2 separate regions of the Homo sapiens genome follow, and region 1 is linked to region 2. The links are contacts of gene promoters, found by promoter capture Hi-C in human tissues and cell types (Jung and others, 2019). All regions are on one chromosome and are shown on one strand. Each heading gives the region's core, a stretch centred on a gene start or on the middle of the fragment in contact. The rest is flanking DNA. Distances are from core to core; before and after follow the strand shown. Region 1 overlaps SLC45A2 (solute carrier family 45 member 2). Region 2 holds the start of ADAMTS12 (ADAM metallopeptidase with thrombospondin type 1 motif 12).

Evidence for each region. Contacts are between HindIII fragments. The study calls those that stand out against the background at their distance.
Region 1: a fragment that was not itself captured here is called in contact with the fragment with the promoter of ADAMTS12 in region 2 in 2 of the 25 tissues and cell types used here (aorta and small bowel).

What each region holds. Positions count from the first base shown.
Region 1 is chr5:33,960,967-33,963,693 of GRCh38, reverse strand. It overlaps SLC45A2 (solute carrier family 45 member 2), which reads left to right. Exons shown (of 7, transcript NM_016180.5): 3 at 1-3. Among named protein-coding and RNA genes, the nearest start is that of SLC45A2, 22 kb to the left of the region's middle. The HindIII fragment of the contact is 4,261 bases long and covers 1-2,727 here.
Region 2 is chr5:33,890,449-33,893,421 of GRCh38, reverse strand. It overlaps ADAMTS12 (ADAM metallopeptidase with thrombospondin type 1 motif 12), which reads left to right and starts at 1,432. Exons shown (of 24, transcript NM_030955.4): 1 at 1,432-1,692. The coding sequence starts at 1,566. RefSeq lists enhancers at 1,149-1,648, 1,649-2,150. The HindIII fragment of the contact is 6,841 bases long and covers 1-2,973 here.

The sequences.
Region 1 (2,727 bases), core at 72-2,571, 70 kb before region 2:
CAGGTAAAGATGCAACATTTTTTCTTTACAAGGGAAAATATTCTTGCTCTTTGTTGTTGTTGTTGTTTTTTTAATTGTTTGTTTTGTCTGTTTGACGAGAAGAGTTTCATGGGGTCTAACTGAATTCCCAAATCCCCCGTAGCTATCATCCCTTGGAATTAAAATTTTATATCTCAAAGAAAAATGTCTGCATTTTCCTCTGGTCCTCCTGTCTCTTACTCCTCTCAGGTAGCATCCAACCAGGGAAGATGAAGCCAGTTGAGAAAGGTTAGGCAACAAGAGAAGCCTAAAATCATCCTTAGGCCAGAAGAAATATCCCCTTAGATTAGGATCATAAATTAGAAATTTTTTCCTCCAAATGGTAGCATCCTTGGGTTGGTGACTGAGTTGGGCATATCGAATTTGCCTGTCATGAGTTGATTGGATATTTTCGTTCATTTTCAGCGAACTGCACAGTGAATTCATCAGCTTAAAATTTGAAATAAAACTCAACTAACTGCCAGAGAAATGAGACCATGTTCAGATGAAATGATCAGAGAAGAGACTAGAATTAAGCTGAGCAATATAGTAGCTAATAATCCCGTGGGGCTATTTAAATTAAAATAAAAATAAAATTAGAACTTCATTTCTTCAGTTGCATTAGCTACATTTCAAATGCTCAAAGGCCCCATAGGGCTTCTAGCTAAAATATAGGACGTGCAGATGTAAGACATTCCCATCATTGTAGAACGTTCTGTTGGACAACACTGATGAAATAATTGCATTTTCCTTCAAGCTAAAATTGAATGCCAAAACCTCAGGGATATAGAACAGAGGATTTCTTGATTGACAAAATGTTGTAGAAGACTTAAGTTCAAATCTTGGTTCCTCTAGCTGCTGACTTGTGTTATTCATTCAGTGAATCACAAATAGCTACTTGCTATAGGGTAACCTAAAGATTAAGAGCACAGTGCTTAAATCCTGGCTGTACCACCTCTGGATTGCATGACTTTGGGCATTTACATTTGTGTTAAATGATAAAATAATTCCATCTACCTACAAGGGTTTCGTGCAGGTTGCAGGGGCTAATTCAGGTAAAGTTACTTAGAGTGTTTGCAACCACATAATAAGCTGTTGGGTTTAGGCCTTGTTATTTTGACCCTGGCAGAACACTAGAGTGCCTTAAGCACAAACAGGGAACACAAATCTGGACTCCAACAACTTTCAGACAAGCTCAGTGAATCTCACCTTCCTGTGAGGTCAACTTCTTTTGTTGGCTTGGCCAGTCTATTTTCTAGGATTATTAGGATGTTCAACTAAGATAAAGCATACAAAGACACTTTTTCAAACTTCACATAAATATATCAATACATTATAATCATTATTCATTTAACAAACAGCTTGGGGTACTGAGTATGTGCAAAGCACTGTACTAGATATTTGGGGACCATAAAACTGACAAATGTCCAGTCTCTATGCCCAGGAATTTGCAGCCTAACACGTGGCATATGCCATTTATACCATGACTCATAATCCATGATAGAACATGGTAAATGCTATAAAACAATGTATCAGTTCAGATCTTTTAAAAAGGCACCAAGATAGGATTTGACATGTAAGAGATTCATTGGAGAAAACAGCATGAAAGATAAAGTGGAGAAAGCAGAAATAGGAAGGGAAAGTCTTCTTATGTTGATGCAAGTCAAACACCTGTGAAAGGAGAAAGGAAAGGAAAGAGGATAGGGTAGGAAGCCTCTCAGATGCAGTGAAGTTTCAAGAAAGCTTCACTCAGGCCAAATGGGAGTCCTCCAGCCAAAGTTGCTCCTTAGAGGAGTCCCAACTCTTGTAGGAACAGGCTAACACTAATACCCCCCGTCTTGTTAGTCACTATCTGGGAACAGCCAGGAAAGGGGTAACTTTGGCAGGAACAGGTACAGGAACAGAGTTCCTTGGCAGGAACAGGAACAGTGGATCCAGAGAGGCAGCATTCAGCGCTGTCGATCAACTGTGTTTTCTCTGGTAGGTGACCCAAACGGCACATTTCCAAGGTGGCCACAAATGGCAAAATAGCAATTGCTTTTAGTTTTAAAGAGGGAAGGATTGTGCCTAAATAAATGGAGAAAAGCGTTATGGAAGAGATCGCCCCTGAGTTGTGCCTTGAATGATAGTTAGGATTTGAATAGAGATTTTGGGGGAAAAGTACTTCTGACAGAAGAGCATCAGCAAAGCCACAGACATAAAAAATTTTTTTTAAAGCATGAAGCATATTTGTAGAAAGTATAAGTGGTACCATAGATCACAGAGTTTGTAACTTTAGAAATAAAGTTAGGAAAGCAAATTGGAGACACATTTTGGAAGCTTTTGAATGCCAGCATAGGAACTAAAATTTTATTAGGTGGATGATGGAGGTCCATCAAAACTAGTGGGGCAAAGGACTCCTTGATGTTAGCTTTTTTTGGTTGGTTTTTTGTTTTTGATATTAATCCAGCTGCTGACTACAGGGAATAAAGAGGTACCCAGGAGGGTTTATTTGGGTGAATAATAAGATGTCTTGGAATGAGTTGCACTGTGTGCTTGGTTCATTCACTTGTGCATTCTTTTATTCATTCAATAGCTATTAATTACACCTGCCAGACCCAGTGCTGAGCATCAGAAGACTAGTGAACACCACAGCCCTTGTTCTACCCCATGGAGTTGTCACCTAGAAAAGTGTGCCTATGTGTTATTTTGCTTTCTTAATCAAAGTTT
Region 2 (2,973 bases), core at 183-2,682:
GGCCATTGCTAGCTTTGATGGGGGAAGAGGGCCATGAGCTGAGGAATTCAGGCAGCCTCTAGAAGTTGGAAAAGGCAAGACAACAGATTCTCCCCTAGAGTCTTCAGAAATGAATGCAGCTGTGCTAACTCCTTGATTTTAGCCCAGTGAGACCAGTTTCAGATCAGAACTGTCACATAAGAAATTTGAGTTGTTTCAAGCCACTGAATTTATGGTAACTTGTAACACCAAAAATAGGAAACTAGCATATACCTCTCAAAGTCTTGGTGCCCATGTGTTCCACATCTGAGAGGACCACCTTGCTTTCAGACCACTGAGTTTGCCTTGGAGGCTCTGTCCCTATACAAGGTTGAGTAAGCTGGTATCCCAGAACTCTTGATTAACACATGTGGTTGGCTGGCAGCCAGGGAAAAGTCAATATTGGGGGCCGAATTCTTCCTGAATGGAGTAAGGAGGCCTGTTTCAGCTCAGAGGTGAAAAATCTTGGCTGGATTAGCCCAGTAAATTCTCAAGATGCCTGGCAAGCGTCCTGGATTGTGGCATTCTCTGACCGATGTAAAAGCTTGAGCCTCTGAATGAATGGACGCCCTCTCCAGGGTAGCCAGTTCAGGGAAACTGGGGAGATACCTTAACACCTTCCTGGGTTGACTTAATTCCTGGTTTCCTTTTGAGTGAATGGAGGTGGGCTAGGAAAGATGGGGTTCTAGAATCAGAAGAGCCGCACAGAGATCTGCAGACTCAGAGGGGCCCACAGGCATTTGCAGCAGTCACCTCATTGCACAGCTGAGGGGGCTTGTCTGAGGTCACATTAGCAGATTAGCGCAGCCCATTTCCCTTTGTGTGACTTGGCAAAGAGAAAAATCGCCTATTAGTTTTTCCAGTGGAAGAGAATCCCAGAGCGGTCCGAGTGGGTGAGGAGTCTTGATAGAGCGATGTTGGGAAAAGTTCAGGAACTTGGAGGAGAACAGCAGGGGAGGGGGCAGCGCTGAGCGCGGAAGGATGGAGGGAGTGGGGCCCCCCTCTGCCTCAACTCTGTTCTCCTCATTTTGAGCTTGTATTTAAGCACGCCGGGGGGCTGGCCTGGGGGCCTCTCACTCGCAGCTTCCTCCAGTGCCTCCCAGGGCGGCTCTCCCGGGTCTCCCCTATTTGGCCGGCTCGGCCAGCTGGGCCTGGCGTTCGGGGCGGGGCCGGAGGAGCGCGGGGGTGGGAGTCCGGGAGGAAGATGCACCGAGCGGGCGGGCTGCGAGGCCGCGGGGCATGCGGGAGGCGGAGGGGTGGGGACCGGGGTGGGCTGCGCCCTCCCGCTCTGGCCCATTCCACACCCCGCCGAAAGCGGACACTGTCAGCTGAATCACTCCCCTTTTAGGAGGAGGGAGGGGAAAAAGGTGTCTAGCTCCTTTCTGCTTAAAAAAGCACAGGGAGATCGCGGGCAGCTTTGCAGTCGCTGCCTTCTCGCGCCTGACCATGCACCCCTGCATCTTCCTGCTGGGCCACAGGCGAGCGCTTTATTTCTGGAGCTGAGGGCTAAAACTTTTTTGACTTTTCTTCTCCTCAACATCTGAATCATGCCATGTGCCCAGAGGAGCTGGCTTGCAAACCTTTCCGTGGTGGCTCAGCTCCTTAACTTTGGGGCGCTTTGCTATGGGAGACAGCCTCAGCCAGGCCCGGTTCGCTTCCCGGACAGGAGGCAAGGTTAGTGACTCTTCTTTATTTCTTTTTAAAACAGTGGTGGTAAGACTTGCGGGAATTTTGTTGCTCCCCTTTCCCTTCCCCCACCCGGCAGAACTGAACTCTGAAAAGCCATTTGGCTGCGTTGTAAGGAAATCTGGGCTGGGACCTCAGGAGCCTAGGCTTTCTCAGAATTCAGTGCTTAAGGTGATGAGTCCTTCATTCTTATAGAAAGGTGAGTACCTCACTCTTTTACAGGGATGACACTGCAGTCTTTGAAAGACCCAAGAGGTAGCTGGTAACTTTTTCTCTTTTGTCTCCTCTTTGAATGCTGTACTGTTTTGATCCCCTATTTTTCAGACTCTAAACATGGAAAATTTTTTTTTTAAGTGCTAACTGGCTACTGGCCGTCATTGCAGTGTTTCTAGTTAGTTTTAAACCTCTGGTCAGGAAAGGGGAAATGTGATTCTTCCCCCCTACTGAGCAGGCTTGGCTGTGTTTTGGTTTCCTGGAAAGATTTAGGGTTGTATTTTTGAAAGAATAGTCCTTTTGGGGGAACTATACCTCCATAAGGGCTCACTTTTTCCTGTCCTGTCTCACTGACCACAGCTGGCTGCTTCTCTTTATGAATTTCTGAACTCATGTTATTGTAGGAAGCATTGGAAGCGTTCTGGTGGACAATTTGTTGTTGTTGTTTTATTCTTTTAAGCCTAACAGTCAGCAGTTTATTGGACTTGGAAGGGTCAGAGGCACCTTCATGTTTGGTGGGGGGTTCATTGTACCTCTGGGGGTAAACAGTCCTAGCAGCAGCAATGGCCCGCGTGGCACTCTGTGTCAGCCCATCCGATCACTGGCAATAGCCTTCCAGGGTGCAGGTACCAGTGTTGCTGTCCCTGCTGTACAGATGAGGATGCTGCAGCTTGGAGAGCTTATGAGGCCAGCTAATGTAGAGCAGAGTTTTCAGCTCAGGTAGTCTGACTCTTAGAATCATGCAGCACTGTCCTGTAGCAATAATAGGGACACACACGCACACACACACGCATATGCACCCACACGCATGCACACGCACACAGAGCACTGGGTTAGCATGCACTAAGTCCTGTGTTTGCTGACTGTGCTGAAGCCTCGGGAAGTGTCCTCCATGACTTTCTGACATCCCTTTAATTCCCAAGGCCACTCGGGTGATAAACATCACCAGCCTGTCCTTGTTTAGGATTTCTAAGCAGGGTTTTCTGCTCATGTTGTAAAATTCAAATATTGCTGGACAACTCATCTGCTGTGGCTTCAAGACGTATCAGAAGCAAG